Regions from separate parts of the Homo sapiens genome. Here regions 2, 3, 4, 5, 6 and 7 are each linked to region 1. The links are contacts of gene promoters, found by promoter capture Hi-C in blood cells and fetal thymus (Javierre and others, 2016). All regions are on one chromosome and are shown on one strand. The core of a region is centred on a gene start or on the middle of the fragment in contact, and the rest is flanking DNA. Distances in the headings are between cores, read along the strand shown.

What was found. Contacts are between HindIII fragments. The CHiCAGO score rates a contact against its expected background, and 5 or more counts as called.
Region 2: a contact is called between a fragment that was not itself captured here and the fragment with the promoter of SGK1 in region 1, in 1 of 17 cell types (monocytes). The highest score is 7.8, in monocytes.
Region 3: a contact is called between a fragment that was not itself captured here and the fragment with the promoter of SGK1 in region 1, in 1 of 17 cell types (monocytes). The highest score is 5.1, in monocytes.
Region 4: a contact is called between a fragment that was not itself captured here and the fragment with the promoter of SGK1 in region 1, in 1 of 17 cell types (monocytes). The highest score is 8.4, in monocytes.
Region 5: a contact is called between a fragment that was not itself captured here and the fragment with the promoter of SGK1 in region 1, in 13 of 17 cell types (neutrophils, activated CD4 T cells, naive CD4 T cells and 10 more). The highest score is 18.1, in neutrophils.
Region 6: a contact is called between a fragment that was not itself captured here and the fragment with the promoter of SGK1 in region 1, in 5 of 17 cell types (neutrophils, monocytes, total CD4 T cells and 2 more). The highest score is 8.6, in neutrophils.
Region 7: a contact is called between a fragment that was not itself captured here and the fragment with the promoter of SGK1 in region 1, in 9 of 17 cell types (activated CD4 T cells, neutrophils, monocytes and 6 more). The highest score is 7.9, in activated CD4 T cells.

What each region holds. Positions count from the first base shown.
Region 1 is chr6:134,316,832-134,319,426 of GRCh38, forward strand. It overlaps SGK1 (serum/glucocorticoid regulated kinase 1), which reads right to left and starts at 1,281. Exons shown (of 14, transcript NM_001143676.3): 1 at 561-1,281. The coding sequence starts at 629. RefSeq lists an enhancer at 829-1,108. The HindIII fragment of the contact is 10,717 bases long and covers 1-2,595 here.
Region 2 is chr6:134,770,320-134,772,914 of GRCh38, forward strand. The region is part of intron 3 of LOC101928277 (a long non-coding RNA gene); the gene reads right to left. Among named protein-coding and RNA genes, the nearest start is that of ALDH8A1, 180 kb to the right of the region's middle. The HindIII fragment of the contact is 1,508 bases long and covers 547-2,054 here.
Region 3 is chr6:134,688,429-134,691,023 of GRCh38, forward strand. The region is part of intron 4 of LOC101928277 (a long non-coding RNA gene); the gene reads right to left. Among named protein-coding and RNA genes, the nearest start is that of LINC03002, 150 kb to the left of the region's middle. The HindIII fragment of the contact is 1,932 bases long and covers 325-2,256 here.
Region 4 is chr6:134,667,934-134,670,528 of GRCh38, forward strand. No RefSeq gene overlaps it. Among named protein-coding and RNA genes, the nearest start is that of LINC03002, 130 kb to the left of the region's middle. The HindIII fragment of the contact is 358 bases long and covers 1,100-1,457 here.
Region 5 is chr6:134,641,237-134,643,831 of GRCh38, forward strand. No RefSeq gene overlaps it. Among named protein-coding and RNA genes, the nearest start is that of LINC03002, 100 kb to the left of the region's middle. The HindIII fragment of the contact is 751 bases long and covers 907-1,657 here.
Region 6 is chr6:134,623,808-134,626,402 of GRCh38, forward strand. No RefSeq gene overlaps it. Among named protein-coding and RNA genes, the nearest start is that of LINC03002, 85 kb to the left of the region's middle. The HindIII fragment of the contact is 7,681 bases long and covers 1-2,595 here.
Region 7 is chr6:134,607,348-134,609,942 of GRCh38, forward strand. No RefSeq gene overlaps it. Among named protein-coding and RNA genes, the nearest start is that of LINC03002, 69 kb to the left of the region's middle. The HindIII fragment of the contact is 1,971 bases long and covers 325-2,295 here.

The DNA of each region.
Region 1 (2,595 bases), core at 31-2,530:
CTGGATTCCATCATTTCTGTAAAAGGTCATTCTACTCCTTTGCTATTTATACCACAGATAGAGACACAGCAAATTATTGGCTGAATGGATTTGGGAAACCAGAAGCTGCTGCTTCTGACGAACGAAGATGATAATGCATCACTTGAGACTGAGTGGATGAAAGGTGTAGAAAAGTTGAACCCTTCAAAGATGAGAGGAAGCTGCTAAATTAGCCCCTGACTAAATTACTAGCCATAATTGTACTCAAGCCAGTTCTCTTTGCGACTGCCTTGTAATCTTTGTTGTGGCTTGAGAGAGAAAAATCCCCATTCCCAGCTCAAACCCGTTTAAGGCATCTCAGCCCAACCCCCTCCTCCCAATGCAACTCTTCATAGCCCCCTGCCCCTCCTCCAACAAATTCTAATCAAGTCAGGTATAGTTCTCAGCTTTACCACTGCCATCAGAAGCACGGCTTACATTAAGGGTTTAGCAACAAAACCTCAGGCTTACTTCAGGCAAACATTCAAAAGCATTTAAGAGAAGCACAGAAAACAAAAGAAATAAGCAAAACCTGTCCTTACCCGCTTCTTAAAAAATTGGAAGGCTGAGCATTTCTTGACTGGGAATCCATTCATGTCTTTGTTTACCATTTTCCACCGTGGGGAATTCACAGTTATAGATCCAGGTTGGCACCCGCCTGGTTAGTGCATATCTGTTTCCCCGGTTTACCTCCTGCAGACAGTTAATGAAGACTGAGCGGGATGGAGAATCTAGCGGGGCTCAGTTCTTCACTCGCGCATTCTGCAGCACCAGCTACTGCAGCAACCTCTCCCCACTTTCAGTTGCCACCGACAGCGGCTTTTCTCCTTCCATCATTGCTCCGAAACATATGCATCACCGCTGCAGGACCCTGGGGGCCGGACGGTGGGATACGGCCAATCTCCGGGGAGATGCTGTGGCTCTTACCGAGCGGGAGAAGGGTACGCCTCCCCGCCCCCAGCTACCTGGCTGCTCTTCCGCGGCCGGCGCGGGGAGCGAGTCGCTCTTCTCCAGGTGATGCGCTCCTGGAGGCGGCTTGAGAGAGGAGAGTTGTTTTTGATTGTGCAAGTTCCAGTGGGAGCTGTAGTTAAGCAGCTGAGAGAAGGAGTAAGAAAGAGCAGAAGCCAGAGGGAGGGAGGGAGAACAGCGCCAGAAAGGCAGAGGGAGCGAGAAGGCGAGGCTGGAAGAAGCAACGGTTCATGAATATCTGAGCAGCGGATGGAGAGAAGGCACAGCCGGCTCAGGGCACACTGAAGAGCAGTTGACTCCCCTTGGGAGGGTTACTTTAAATAGCTTCTTTTCTTTCTTTCTTTTTTTTTTTTTTTGGTTAGGACCATTTAAATCAGAGTTTCATATAAATTGCACACCGTTTTTATTTTATGCTCATTGACATTCTTTTGAATCCTGTTGCTGAATAAAAGCCTCTCAACGGAAATGTAATCACATTTAATCTCGACCTGTCCAAACGTGGAAGAAAATGAAATAAAGTGCAAGCGTAGGTATAACAATGGAAGATCTCTCACTATGTAGAAGCTCTTTTAGCCTCCCCTCCCCTACTTGTCATTATATAGTGGGCAATGGTGACGGTAATTGTGTCTTTTTCATTAAAACAGCTTATTAAAAAAAGAACACAATGAACATATACAAAGTACTTTATTACACACATACACACACACACGAGTTATTACCAAAAAGTACTACTGAATCCATTTAATGATGAGGAAGGTTTGATAAATAAAAGAGTAAAGCATTCTTCCTATTAGGTGAAAAATTTCCCAAAAAATCCTTACTCATGTTATCCTTTGCACACTGAGCTCCTTTTAAAAAAGCCATTTAATTGTATGTGGCTTATTTTTCCATTTTTATTCTTTAATGTTGATATTTTATGGGAATGATTTTAAAGATTAGTTGATAGTAAAGCAAGAAAGCAAAGAAAATAAACTTGGCATCTGACCTGGCAGAAAGCCACCAACATCGGTGTGTGGCTTTCTGCCATCACCTGACCTCACTGTGCCTTTCGGACACTGCCTCATCCATAAAATGGAGGCAGCCACTCATTCATTCATTCACTCATTCATTTATTTAGTCATTCATTATTTGCTATTTCATTCCATTAATAAATCTAACTCTGACAAGTGTCCTCAGGATGTGGAGCCTTTTCATAATCATCACAAGGGAATATAATTGATAAATAAGTGAAAGGCGCAATGCTAATTTGAAACTGATTATGACCTCATTATATATAACACACCTAACATTGTTAAAGTATTTACATGGAAGTCTCTGGTAAGAAGAGAAACATCAGGTTAAACTGGGAAAGAAATGCATGGGTTTCATTGAATTGGACTATAAATCTCTACAGTTGGGCCAGAGTTTTTGGGAATAAACATGAAATCCTGTTTGCTAAATGCCTTGAGGTTTCCAAAAAGAAAATGCAATACAACTAAATGATGGCATGATAACCAAGGGAAAACAACTATTCATTTTGGAGAGATATGTTAAGTTGTCCAAGATGCAAGTATATGTTATGTAATCTACAACATTGATAAGTTTTTGTGGTTCTTCTAAAGAGTTCAT
Region 2 (2,595 bases), core at 51-2,550, 450 kb after region 1:
AAGGATAAACTGACAGCCCCGGCCAGGTGCAGTGGCTCACGCCCGTAATCCCAGCACTTTGGGAGGCCGAGGTGGGTGGATCACCTGAGGTCAGGAGTTCAAGACCAGCCTGACCAACATGGCGAAACCCTGTCTCTACTAAAAATTACAAAAATTAGCCAGGCATGGCGGCGGGCACCTGTAATCCCAGCTACTCGGGAGGCTGAGACAGGAGAATCACTAGAACCCAGGAGATGGAGGATGCAGTGAGCTGAGATCATGCCATTGTACTCCAGCCTGGGTGACAGAGCAAGACTCCGCCTCAAAAAAAAAAAAAAAAAAAAAAAGAAAAGAAAAATTGACAGCCCCTCCATGATGGAATGGCTCACCATGGTTGGCTTTCCATCAGGGAACTTTTCACCAAGAGGCTAGCTAGTCTTTCCAGGGTGTAGCATCAAATTGGCAGGAACAGAGGGACACTCAGGGTTGTTTGCTACTGCTGTCACCACCAAGTTTGGACATGCAGAATACCTGGCTGTGTCAAAGAAGCACACACCCACACCACCAAGCTTTTCCTCACTTTTAGTGACAGAGAACTAACTGAGGTGGCAACTTATATTCCGTTTTATTCATTTTGGAAGGCAAATCCCAGGATATCTCCTAGATAACAGGGATGCTAGAGGCATTAGGTTCTGGTATGTTTTCTAGAGTTTACCTCCTACCCTGTCATATATATCCTTTACCAAGATATATAGAGTACCAGCCACGTCCTGCTTTTCAGTCCTATCATGAAGAAGTCATCAATACAGCACAGCAGCATGGTACTATGAGACCAGCAACATCCCCAAAAACTAAAATGTGGCACAGAATCTGCAAACTAATGTATCCTAGAGACAGGATAGTAAAGGGATCTTTCTCACCAGGTCAGATGAAGCAAATGAGTCCTATTGGTTAGAATAAAGAAAAAAAAATAACTGTATCAATAACTGCATAACAGATATGTTTTAGAGCATTGTTTTTCTGTAGAAGACCAATTCTGGAAGAGCAGTAGTATTTAGGGTCACCACATTACTATATTTATGAACATCCATTGTTATTCTCCAAGATCCATTCATATTCTGCAAGTTCTGAATTGGGAAATTAAAAGGGAAAGTAATAGGAAACAACATCCCAGTATTTTGTATTTGCTTGGCATAGTATCTGCAGTTCCTTGAGGGCCATATTATTGCTTCCAATTTGCAAGTTGCATTGGGTGGAGAGATCCATGGTATCCTCTTGACTCTCCCTTTCATAATAGACCATAATCCACTGGATCAGACCCAATGTTAGCATTCTGCCAGTCACTATAGATATGTATTCTATCCAAACCAGAGGCAGGGTAACAGAAGTGTGGCTAAGGCTCTAAGAAACTATAATGCAAGAGAAACTCAGTATGGGGCAAGTCAGCGGAATTACAGGGTGAGAGAAATTTTAAGAAGAGAATCATAAGGCTTTAAACATTTCAAGAGAATAGACCAATAGTTTAACCAGTTGCAGATTTCAACAGGTCAGCCAGCAAGAGACATCTCAAATAAGCCCAGTGAAGACCTAGAGGTCAGCATAAGGACTAACAGGTGAAACTACCATACGTCATGGCCATGAAGAAAAAAGAGTTCCTATATCCAGACACTATTTTGGAGAAAAGGATGAACAGCCCAGAGAGGAAGTTTAAAGTATGAATTTAGCTGAATATTTTTCTAAAATAGAATATGATCATCTGAAAAAGCCTTTAATTGGCAAGTTTAAGTGTCCTCTTCCCTTTCTACCATTAAGAGAAAGATTTGAGAGCAAAATTCAATCAGTTCCAGAAAATAAAGAATGTTTGCTCTTTTTTTTACACATTAGTATAATGTGTAACATTGACTGCACTACCCATTATGTATCAATCAGTGCTAAATTATAGCTCCAATTGTATCATTCTCCTTTCCTGCTAAACAGTCCTAACAGATCATTCCAGAGTTATCTCCACAATTTACTTCATTCCCTCTACATTCAACCAAAACTGGCCAATGGTCTCTTCCCTTACACACAACTTAAGCTTTTCTGTCTTCGTGTAAACCAGAAACAAGAAGCCCTCAACAAGGCGGCTTAAGGAAAGGAAAGAGAACTAGAACCTGGTGGGTCAAGAGCTAAGGGATAAACAAAGCTGCCATATTAGCTCCATTGTAAGGAAGTACGCATGGACGTGTCCCTGAAAGTTTGGCCACTCATGCAGGATATGCCAGCACCACTACTCACAGGCCCTGGGCCTGGCAGTTGGGCTGCAGTGGGTGAGCCCCTCGGCAGAAATACATTCAGAAATCAAGTGGGAGGTGATATGGTTTGGATGTCCCCTCCAAATGTAGAGGGGAGCCCCCAGTGTTGGAGGTGGTCCTGGTAGGAGATGTTTGGGTTATGTGGACAGATCCCTTGGGGCTTGGTGCTGTCTCACTGTTGTGAGCGAGTTTTCACAAGATCTGGTCATTTAAACATGTGGCACCTATCCCCCATCTTGCTTCTGCTTTTGCTATGTGAAATACTGCTCTTACTTCACTTTCTGCCATGAGTAAAAGCTTCCTGAGACCTCCCCAGAAGCAG
Region 3 (2,595 bases), core at 41-2,540, 370 kb after region 1:
GAATATATCATTGTCTATTTAACTATTTCAAATATTTAAATTGTTTCTAATCTTTCCTATTATAAACAATATTGTAACATACCAACTCATTTTCAGCATGAGTACACTTAGTTTAGAAGAAATTATATTCTTCAACTTTACCTTCCTTAGATAGCAAATACAACAATCCCCAAATTACCAGAATCCAAAGTGCTGGAAACCACTTTTTGAACTGCCATTGATTCTGTCATATTGTAAATCAAACCAGGTCATCATTGGAAAGCATCCCTACTCAGCTACCCCTCTCTCCTCTACAGGAACAATGGAGATCTATATTATGTATGAAGCTTGTCTCTCTTAACGTTGTTACAAATTCTTTCCATTGTATTAAAATACTTTCTTTTGCAAGGGAAATAAAAACATACGCTTTAAAAAGTCATACAAATGAAAGAATTGCTACATCTATTTCCTCATTAGAATGCTATTCAGGGTGTGGTGGTACCAGGAAATTAAGAACCCACCCAGTTAAGGTTACTGAGTGATGGGTTCGTTAGGAATTTCCAACAATTTAATGAATTTCGTCTAAGAATTTGAATGTTCCCCTCAGAGAGGGTAATCAGGCATCAAAAACACAATGAAACCTGCCCATCTCCCCAGAGAGAAATGAAAGTTGCTGGTGAAGACAAGTAATATTAGAATCACATCTTTTCTTCACCTATTTCTGGTTTTCAAAGGGGACAATAAATTCCTAAAAGCTAAGGTATCAGGAGCAACCTGATAAAAATATTTGCCATTTCAAATTCTATATTCTGTGAGGCTATAAATGATTTTATTAGTTTATTCCCGAGCAAGTACCTTATAAGTTTTACAAGCAGAGAAGCGGAGACTGCACTCTATATGATGAATCAGTTGCCCAGGAAGAGGTGCCTGTCTCAGGCTTCCCAGGCTTTGCTAATTCCCAATCATTGCCAGTTGCCCCACGAGACAAGCATGACTGAGATAAAGTGTCCTTTCACAGCCACTGAACAAGCCCAGCATTGTCCCTTCCAGTTCTTAGAATGCGCTATTTTTAATTTAGCAGACTAGCTTTTATCTTGCTAAATGAAAGGTATTCTATACACTCTCCTGAGTTTTTTTTTTTCTCTTGCAGTCTCTTCTCCTGGGAAATTGAAAGATTTTTTTGAAATGATATCCAAAGGATACAACCTTGCCTATTACTTCCCCTGGAGAGGAAACAAGGCTCAGAGATTCAAGCCATAGTTTTCTTTACACTTGACAAGGTTTCAAATGCCCAGGATGTTCTTAAAAGTGTGGATACTGTTACACTGTACTAAGAATGCCTAGCCATGGCAGGGTGGTGGGGAGCGCTGGCACTTGGCAAAGGAGCTGGGGTTTTACTAATGACAGATCCCGATAGCAGGAGCCAGGTCAGAGCTGGCTGCATGCACTGCCCTGGGGCCGGAGGTACCTCTGCCAGGCTCCAGCCCTCTGCCTGCCAGCACACAGTCCTGTGGCGACTGAGGATTAAGAAGACCAGGAACCCAGGAACCACAGATCCCTGAGAGATGCTGCAAGTGGGAGGAAGATAGCTAAGAATGGGTTCCTTGCAAAGCCTTTCTTGTTGCTGCCTCCACAGTCCCTTCCTTCCCACCCACTCGACTGCCACCCATATATACTTAATGGGTACATAGTGAAATTGTTCTACCATACTGCATACCCTGAGTGGATTCTTCCAGGAAATGTTTAATCCCAACCAACCCCATCCTGCATCTCTGATTCAATCAATGGCCACTCCCATGGCCACCATCACCATCCCCTTAACACCTCTCCACCTGTCTCCATCCCCCAGCCACCTGGTGGACTAAATGGTAATATTTTGTCTTTCCTGTCCCACAGCCTTCCCGGATGGAATGTGCACTCCCTCATTTGTGTCTCTTTTGTGTTCTGTGCACACTTCTATTGTGCACCTGTAATGTTAGTCTCCCCTCTTCAAATACAGAGACTGGGTCTTGTCTACCTCTGTCTGCCCCGTCCCTGTACTAGGAACATGGCACTCAGTGAACGAATGAGTGCTGACCGACTAAAGAATGATTGTGTATCTGGCCAGTGCTGGGAAAAGCTGAGCATATGAGCAAGATGTCTTCCTCTCCAGGCATTCTCTTATCCCAGGTTGACCCCTCTGTCATTGTGGCTGCTGCTACTGTGGTTACAGTGGTGGTTGCTGCAGGTGTCCTCAACTCTGCTGCCTCCGCAGCCCTGTTCAGTTGTCTGCTGTTAAGCTTGTGCTCTTCTTAATACTTTGGCATGGGCTTCTCAGCCATTGGAATTCTTACCTCTATTAGAATCAGCTGGATCACTTTTACAAAATCTGTGCAGATGTCCAGGCTCCACCCCAGACCAATTAATCAGACCCTCTTGGCTGGGCGTGGTGGCTCACGCCTGTAATCCCAGAACTTTGGGAGGCCAAGGTGGGCGGATCACCTGAGGTTAGGAGTTCAAGATCAGCCTGGACAACATGGTGAAACCCTGTCTCTACTAAAAATACAAAAATCAGCTGGGTGTGTTGGCGCATGCTTGTAATCTCAGCTACGTGGGAGGCTGAGGCACAAGAATCAC
Region 4 (2,595 bases), core at 29-2,528, 350 kb after region 1:
CTAAGCAGTTTCTTCCAAGTGGATCATTTTTTCACTGCCCTTTTGTCCACAGCCTTCTTTTACAGGTATGGATTACCTGGTTGGTCCAACTTTCAGATTTAAGTATGCCTGTGGTCTCTGTAAGAGTGAGGAAATTTCCTCTTTGGGTCCAGGTGTGTGGTCCACCTCCTTGCCATCTCAGCCAGTGTGTCCTTGGTTTTTCTTACCTTAAGAAATCTAGTTTCTCTCTTTCCCTCAATTTAATTGCATGGTCTATAGAAGACCCTCTTTAAAAAATTTATTGAGACTTGCTTTAAGTGTTAGAACATCATAAATTTTCATAAATGTTTCATGTGTGCCTGAAATAAATTTCCATTCTCTGGTTATTGAGTACAGTGTTATATAAATGCTCATTTTTGTTATTCAAACATTGTATATATTTACAGATTCATTAAATAAATCAGTAGTTAAGAGTATAAAAGTCTTCCCCTGTGATGATGAATTTGTCTATTTCTTATTTTAGTTCCATGAATTTTTGCTTATATTTTAAGGCTATGCGATTGGGGTATTAAAGTTTCAAACTGTAATTTCCTCCTGGTGATTTACTTTGATAGGCAACTAGAAACCACTGAAGTTTGTAGAGCACAGAAATAACAGGATTGGAACCACTCATCCCTATATAGCCTGATTTAATAGAGACATTCTTTGTTTGCATTTTCATTAATTTGGTTTTCACTTATTTTACTGGCTTAATAAGCCCAGCTTGGGAATGAGAATATTTCACCTCCAGTTAGTATTTTGAGACCTAATTTTTCTGGCTTCAGGGAAAGAACCAAATTGATTTGGTTGCTAATAACTTAGACTCTGGATTTGAAAACTGTGAAGTTTCATTGTAAAATAAAAGATAATGTGCCTCATTACGGTAGTAAATGGTGGATGACAAAGAGGTTACAGGATGAGAGGACAAAGAAGTTTGTTTTTGTTTTTTCTGGTTTGGTTTGTGGGGCCAGAAAGGAAATCAGTAAATAAGAATTCAGTTTTGTACATGTCACTTCAGGGCTTGAGATACTCATAGGATTTCTAAGCAGAGCTATCCAGCAAATAGTTAAAAGGTAGCAGAAGCTTAGGGGAAAGTTCCAGAAAATTACAAAATCAAAAGAACGAATATTTACTTCTACAATGATCATTAGTAACAATAATGAGGACAGCAGTGACTTGGAACGTGGGTTGGACATAGCCAAATTCGGGTTTTAGGAAGAATAACTCTGGCTGTAGGGTGAAAGAAGGCCTAAGATGGGAAATAATCTAGAGATGGGAATACCAGGTTATTACAAATGTCTATCTCGAAGCAGTGAGGAACTACATTCAGAAAATAGCCACAGGAATAAAGTGGGGTGGTCAAATTCGAGGTTTATTTTAAGGCAAAATTTCTAGGTTGTGGCAATGAAAATATTAGGCTAGGAAGAGACAGAAAGAGAAGCTTGAAGATGTTTTTAAGAGTTTAACTTAGGAGACTAGGTGGTACACACTATTAATCAGCCTGGGGCATGTCAGGATTTTCCTTTATTTTCTTTGTCTTCTCTTTGTATGTATATACCACATTCTTCCTAGGCTCTGACAGGTTTCAAAGATATTGGGCCTAACATAATCTTGCTGGTAAGAAGAGACTAAATCACTTGCCTTTTAGGTACTTACAATTCCTAGTCCATGAGTAAATTTTTTGCAGCAATTGAAAAGGAGATTTAATTAATTGCATCCTGAGACAGAGAGCAGTAATTCACTACCAACATGCTGTTGTTTGTTTAACTCTATCACTCATTGACTCATTAACCTTCACAACATCTCTTACAGCTCTCTACTTTCCTAAGTGGAAGATAATACAGGTTGGCTCATCCAACTCCATTTTAGCCTATCCATCTCCACTCCCAACCCCTTGTGGCAGATTTTATAGCATCTCAGAGGCCAAAAAGCTGAATCCCTTATGCCATTTATCAGATTTCTTATAGCACTACTTCCTTCCACCAAGCAGATCTAACCACACAAGATTTAGAAGGCAGAGGTGAAAATCACAATGTCAAGACCATTCTGCCACCTCTGCTATTTCTCAGTTTTGTTGTGTTTTCTGCAGTGATTGTTGCATAGGTCCTGTCAGCGGTTGAATTGCGTCCCTCCAAACTGTTGAAATCCTAACCCCCTAGAAATTCTTAGGTCATATACCTATGAACATGACCTTATCTGAGAATAGAGTCTTTGCAGATAGACCAGTCAAGATGAAGTCAGTAGGGTGGGCTTTAATCTACTATGACTGTTGACCTTAAAAAAAGGGGAAATTCAGGCAGAGACAGACATGTGCACAAGGAGAATGTCACGTGAACATGGAAGTAGAGAATGGGGAGATGCATCTACAAGACAAGAAAAAACAGAGATTGTCAGCAAATCACCAGAAGTTAAGAGAGAGTCATAGAACAGACACTCCCTCACAGCCCTCAGAAGGAACCAACCCTGCCGACACCTTGCTTGGACTTCTAGCCTCCAGAACCATGAGACGATACATTTCTGTTTTTTAAGCCATGGCATTTGTGGTACTTTGCTGCAATAGCCCTGACAAGACAATAC
Region 5 (2,595 bases), core at 32-2,531, 320 kb after region 1:
TCAGTGCGTCACATGTCAGATACCTCCTAAATATGCAAGTGTCAGGGAAATGAATGAAGAGGATCTCTCAATTCTGTAACAGGAAGCACCACTGGGGAGAATGGCAGAGGCTCTGGGCTCTGGCTCTTGTTGCTTCATTAGCCTCTCATCTGGGAGCCCTCTGGGGTGCTGGCTGGTCCACCCTGGCCATGTCTGGGTCTCTTGATTATGCCAGGTTATTCCCTGACTCAACACACTGACATGTGCTTCTCTCTCTGCCTAAAAACTTCCTCACCCCCTTCATCTCCTAAATCGTATCTCTCCTTCAGAATGTAGCTGAAGGGCCACCTTCACAGGAAAGTCTCAATCAGGACTTCCTTAAATCTTCTCATACCACCTGATTCTTCTCCTTCAAGGCACCCATTACGATTGTAATTGAATAACTAAATTGTTTAATGAATGTACAATCTGCTAAAATGTAAGCCCCTCTAAGGTCTTATTTACATTTGCATTTCCCATAGGTGTACAACATAATTTTTAAATGAATGAATGAATTCTGAAGCGAAAACATAACATTCTTAAATTTGACAGCCCTTTTGTTTGCAGATAAACCAAAGCCAGGCTTATCCTGGAGTATAATTTCAAAGATAACCAGGGGAAGAAGAGAGGAGAAGATAGGGAAGGGGTGGGACTGAATTGGGTCAAGGTTCTCTTCATTCTGTCTCACCAAGGAATAGTTGTACGCTAATGTAATTAAATGCCAAAACTAGCTTGCAGAAACTTTTCTCTTTTCTCAAAGTTCTCTAAGTTTACAAAGAGTAAGCATGCTTTTCAAATCCTACTTATTTTTTATCCTTTGCCTATAGTATGGATCCACCCTCCAAGACTCTGAAAGTTTTTAATTGTAGTATCTGTGCATGGAACATAAGCTTAATTACTAAGGCAATGCCCATTGCTTTGTAGGGCCACGAACAATGCTTTTCATTACTGGGCATAAAGTACTCTGTTGTTATTTTCTCTATAGCCTTATATTGGAATAAGCAATAATTGTAGTTTATTCTTTACAGATGGAGGCAATAAGCACAGACAGATCTGGAACCCTTGCCTACTGTGACATACAGCCGCAGTAGCAGGCAAGCCTGGGTCAGCTCCAGAGCGGCAATGGAGGGAAATTCCCAGGACTCTGGGTGTCTTGGAAGTTTCCAAGGCCTGCAACTGATCACAGATCCTGGTTTTCCTCCCATTGGCTAAAAAGATAATAAATACAAGTTACAGCTTGACTACTGTCTGAAAAAATCTTGTAATGGTTAATGGAAGAAAGAAGAGAAAGTCCAGATGTTTGTTTTTTTTCCCTGCTTAGTGTGAGTTGAATGCTAACTTGAGACTAGGTCTAAAGTAGATCAGAAAATGCTTTCTCTTTATAAGTCAATTCATACCAGAAAAAATATAGGACACAGACAATGCCCAATAGTTACACTGGGACATGGAAATGGAGAGGAAGGGGAGTAACACTTGTGGGGTTGATATTATCATTTCATCATCTATCTGAAATATCGCACAAGGGAGGGAAAACTGAAACAGTAAAAGCCACATACAGATTCCACTGTTTTTAACATTACATTTGTTTCTCATTCATTTAACTTTCAATAAATATTTATTGAAAACTCGCAATATACTAAGCTTTGAAAACACAACAAAGAATAAAATGAAGCCCTTGGTCTTTTGGACTTTACTTTTCATGGGCAGGGTACAGATAGAGAACAAGGCGGAATAATGTTCAAGTAAATAAGCCAGGTAATTTCAAACACTAATAAGCGTTACAATCATGATAAAGCAGGGCGATGTGATTGAGAGTGGCTGGAGGTGAGGGTTTGTTTTAGATCTGTGCTGTCCAATACAGTTGCCACTAGCCATATGTGCCTCCTGAGTATTTGAAATGTGTCCAGTCCATGTTGAGATGTGCTGTAAGAGATGAACTGAATTTCAAAAACTTAGTATGAGAAAAAGAATAGAAAATTATCTCATTAACATTTTTATACTAATCGTTGAAAATATCTTAGATATACTGGATTAAATAAAAATATCATGAAGAAGGATTTAACCTCTTTTTATGTGCTTTCACTGTGGCTACTTGAGCATCTAAAATTGCACTCACACTTGTTCTTTACCTTTTTGTACTGAGCAGCACTATGGATGGATAGTGTCGTCAGGGTGGGCCACCCAGCCTCTTAAGAAGATGATAATACACTTAGGAGGAACTGGGCATGCAAAGGTCTCAGGGCAGAGTAGTGCAGGCAAGGAGAACAGCAATTGCGAAGAACCTGAGGTGGGAACCAGCTTGGTGAGTTGGAAAAGAAAGAAAGCCAGTATGCCTGGAGAGAAGGCCAGGAGACAAGGAGGTCAAAAATAAGGTAAACCCCCGAGACCAAGGCTTGCTCATGCAGGGCTTTGTAAATGAGAGTAAAAAGTTTAATACAAGGCTGGTCACAGTGGCTTGCACCTGTAATGCCAGCACTTTGGGAGGTTGAGGCAGGAGCATCACTTGAGGCCAGGAGTTCAAGACCAGCCTGGCCAACATGGCAAAACCCCGTCTCTGCTAAAAATACAAAAATTAGC
Region 6 (2,595 bases), core at 34-2,533, 310 kb after region 1:
GTATTCTCAATAAAGCTCACATTGGTGCCTGCCATGGTTCCATCAGCTGTAGCCAGGGAGGATGGTGGCTATGCTAGAGCAATATTGTCACCCAAGCTCTCATCAGAAGGGTCTGTTAGTGAGGGATGCTCCTAAGGAAGCATGCTTTGAATGTGACACCCCCAAAACATACCTACTACATTCTTCCATGAACTTTAAAACAAAGCTAAATATTGTTTAGCTTTTCTTAAAGCTATTATTCTTAAAGCTCCTTATTTTCTATTAGGAGTCCAGTATAGCATGAATATCGTCAGGAAACACTTTTGATTCGGAAGGTCTCATATATCTTTTTTTTTAATGTTAGGGGGAAATCCTCTCAGAGGTTAATGCTGGGCCCCAAAATACCTGTCAGCCCTAAGAGCATGTTCTCTTCTCTCTTAAAATCCACACAGTTCACATCAGTGAGCCTGTGTCTGCCAGACACCTGCTGTCTTGTGACTGGTGTCCAACTCACCCCACAGAATGTTTCTTTCTTTTTAATGCCCCAAACCAAAATCAATAGCTTTTATTAACAGACAACATCTTCTTTCTCTTTCTTCCTTCCTTCCTTCCTTCCTCCCTCCCTTTCTTTCCTTCCTTTTCTTTCTCTTTCTTTTTCTCTCTCTCTCTTTTTCTTCCTTGCTATCTTTCTTCTTTTTGACCGAGTTTCACTCTGTCACCCAGGCTGGAGTGCAGTGGCAAGATCTCGGCTCACTGCCACCTCTACCTCCCTGGTTCAAGCGATTCTTCTGCCTCAGCCTCCTAAGTAGCTGGAACTACAGGCACACGCCACCATACCCGGTTAATTTTTGTATTTTTAGTAGAGACAGGGTTTCATCATCTTGGCCAGGCTGATCTCGAACTCCTGACCTCGTGATCTGCCTGCCTGGGCCTCCCAAAGTGCTGGCATTACAGGCATGAACCACCACACCCAGCCACAACATCTTCTTTCTATACACTGGTTTCTTATATGTGATCAGTACTTGGCTGTGCCTACACTTTCTGCTCACTGACCATAATGGATGCTTCACTTGAGTATTTAACCCAGAGCTCAGCCACATTTCCCCCTCCAATTTCCCTGTGATTTAAGTAGCCTGTCCAGACATGCTCTAACCGCAGGTGCCCACAGTGCTGTCCTGCACCTCGGTTACTCTTGACTTCATGGCCACAACAGACAAACAGCAGCTGAACCTAGGATCGTGGCAACTTAGAATGTCTGAGTCAGTTTCTATTACGTTCACAACTATGGAGATGGTCGAAAGGACAGATAGCGTTCAGTAGGCAGTTGGTTTGGGGTGGCCTGGGCAATTTTTTCACTATATCAATATTCAAGAGATTTAAATTTTTTTAATTTAAAATTAAGATAATATGCCTACAGTAAAGTTCACTCTCTTTAGTGTACAGTTGTCAGATTTTGACATCACGTACAAGTCATGTAACCACCACTATAACAAGATGCAGAACAGTTTCATCATCTGGAAATGTTCCCCCATGCTCCTTTGTGGCAGACACTCTATTCTAAAACACTCCTTAGGTGATTGTGATGGGCAGCCATGCAGGGGAATCGCTGATATGGCGCCAAACCTTTTATAAATGGAAAAGTTACGTGACTCGCCCGAGATCATGCTGCTTGACAGCTGGGGCTAGGACAGAACCTAGGTCATCGTTTCTCAGTTTTACTTTCTTCCAACACACACCACTTATTCTAAAGTATCCGGGTCCACAGTGGTTCCTCCAAGTAAAAACATACATATGAAATAAACAATAAACAAAAATAACCACAAACTGAAATGAAGAAACCCCAAATTAAAACAGAATGAAATAAAACAACCACAACAGATAATCCTGAGATTCCTTAAATTTACCTGAATATACTCAGAAGCAATAGCAAGATAGGAAAGAATGATTGTACCTTATTTCCAGCACAAAATGCTGTTCTTTTCTTTCTTTTTGTTTTTGCAAACACTGTGTGTCCTACCCAGTGCTAAAATACACCTATGGCAAGTCACCTCTAGGTATAATGTGCAGAAAACCGAGAAACTGTAGGGAAATTAAAAACTTAACTCCACAACTTAACTTCCTTCTCTTATTATGCCTCTGATCTGGATAATGAAAAGAGGCACACTTGGAGAAAAACATGCTGCAAATATCTGAGGGTGACTGGCAGACAGTCCTGATCCAATTATGGCCCTAATGATCAGCCTATAAATAAAGCAGCTTTGCCTCTTTTAGATGAGCTTCCTAAAGATAGAAGTTATTTTGTCTTGAGAAGCTCACAGCCCTACCCAGGGGATGGGCCAAGTAAGGCCACAGAAGTTTGAAACCCTCTGTGTTTTTCCAGGGAAAACCACCAGAGCTTCAGGTGGGTGTGCCCACATATGGCAGCACAACGTGTGGGAAAGATCCATCCTGGGGGTAAAGAGCATTTGCTGCTTTGCTGTGTGTGTGCCAGAAGCCAAAGTCAAGAATCACTTAAAATCCTAGGCATGGACTCAAAAGAGAACAGCAAGCAAGAGTCATCACTTCCAACAATGTGAACCTTTCATGAAGTCTGAATTAATTTTCCACCCGGAGATT
Region 7 (2,595 bases), core at 60-2,559, 290 kb after region 1:
CAACTGGTCATATCCAGATTTAAACCCCCACTCCATGCCCATTGATTGAAACTCTCCTCAGTTCCTTGATCTTCCAGTATCTTTCTAGATGGGAATAGTTTCTCCTCTTGTGGGGACCTGAAGCTGACGACCCTAAGACTCAGCTGGACTGTTCACACTCTTCCAATCAGGGAGACTCTATTCAAATGCTGTTGTCCTAAATTCCTATTCTCAGTCTGCTGTATCTCTGCCAAAACCTTATGCCAGAATTTTATTTGAAACCACAAGGACACTTATTTTGACCTTACATCTCCTCTGCCCCCACAGGTCATTGTCTGAAATGTAAGCTTCTCATCTGTTTTCCCTACTGTCATCCTCAGATATCTCCATGTGTCCTTTTCACCAATCTAACCTTCCACTCTTTTCCTTTCTTCAACTTTTTTCAACTATACTTTCTGAAATTCCTATTTCATGGTAATTAAACTTTCTTACAGACACACACACATGTACACACATACACCCCTAAACACACCTTCACAGAAAGACAATTGTATTTATTTGTTCTTGCTACAAAGAACTACCTAAGACTGGGTAACTTATAAAGAAAAGAGGTTTAATTGGCTCACAGTTCCACGGGCTGTACAGGAAACATGGCTGGGGAAGCCTCAGGAAACTTACAACCATGTTGGAAGGCAAAGGGGAAGCAGGCATGTCCTACCTACATGGCTGGAGCAGGAGGAAGAAAGTAAGCGGGGAGGTGCTACACACTTTTAAACAACCAGATCTCGTGAGAACTCACTCACCATCACAGGATCAGCAAGGGGAAAATCTGCTGCCATGAGCCAATCACATCCCACCAGGCCCCACCTCCAACATTGGGGATTACAATTCAACATGAGATTTGACTGGGGACACAGAGCCAAACCATATCAACAACTTTACCATCTTATCTTCAGTAAAACTAGATTTCTTCACAGTCACCACCTCCCCAGAAAACCTTCTGAAGTGAAGGACGCTAAACCTTCCTCCACATCAGCAAACCCGTTCAAATGACAGTGCCATCAGCCAACTATGAGACTGTGGTGGCGTCAGTATCTTCACAGATCCTCAGGTTTTCTTCCAAATCCTTGTTTCTCTATCCTTGCATGAAGACCCTCATGGCATCTGACTATTCTGCCTCCTTCCCTCCTGATTGCTGTCCTCTACCAGCTGTTTGACATCCATCATAAATCTTGGTACCTGCTCATAGCGCACTTCTCTATCCCATGTCCTGCTATCATAATGATAACACCAGTGACCATTAGTGTCCATGTGGATGACATTTCCAACACTCTAGATTCCCAGGTTCTTGAATTTATGAGTTCTAGTGGCCTTTACTTTCTCTAAACTCCAGCCTTTTATACCTACTGCCACATCCTAGACTGGGTTATAATCCAGAATCCTCCCACATGTGACACCTTGAGCTCTAATGCCTACTCTCTGAACTTACCTCATATATTTTGAAGTTTTTCACATTCACTAGTGCCTTTAAATCTATTTTTGGTGTTATATGTCTATTTCAAGTCCCCTGATGACTCCATTTTCTCCTAACAATCAGTGTCTTCCTAAAGTCACTTCCTTTACGACCTAGTCTGGACCCCATGGTTGATGACTTGAATTCATCACCAACAACCACGCACTCCTATTCTTATACTGTATGTTCTGTCAAAGTCCCAACACTGCACCACACTCAAAATCTCTGCTTTATTATTCTACAGCTAGAATGCTTACCACTGGTCTTCAGTGAAACCCTCAATGTCATTCGACGTATCTGTTTGATGCCCATAGTAAATTGCTGCTTTATCTTCCATTCTCTTTCAGGCCTTCACCACCATTCTTCTCAATTCCTCTATCCACAGTGTATCTTCACCATTTCCACTTTAATTAGACAGGTTCATGTTTAAGGGATCACTCTGATAGCAGTGAGGTGAGTGTTGTGATAGCCAGCCTCCAAGATGGCTCCAGTGATCATGGCCTTTTGATATTCATGCCGTTCCATAGTCTCCTTCCTCCAACAGAACATGCATAACCAATAGAGTACAGTAGACGTGACAAAGGTAACTTTTGGGGCTAGGTTATAAAAGGAATTTCAGCTTCTGCCTTGGCATCTTGGACTGTTTGTTCTTGTGGAAGCTAGGCTGCCAGGCCATGAGGGCATTCAAACAATTCTGTAGAGAGGGTTACCAAGGAGGAACTGGGGCCTTCAACTAACAATCCCAACCAGTATGTGAGCCATTTGAGAGTCACCTGGGAAGTGGATCCTCCAGTTCCAATCAAAGCTTCAGACAAGTGCGACTCCAGCTAGAATCTTGACTATGACTTCATCAGAGACCCCAACACGGAACCACAGAGCTTAAGCTTCTCCTGAATTCCTGACCCACAGAAACTACAAGATAGTGTTTATTCATGTTGCTTTAAGTTACACAGTCTTAAAATAATTTATAATGCAGACATTCATAACCAACACAGATGAGTTTAAGAGAACAAGACCAGAGGCATGCAGATTTGTAAAGAGGTCATAAAATAGTGCAGGCAAGTGCTGACAAGAGCTTGAATTAGAGCTGTGGGGTTCAGATG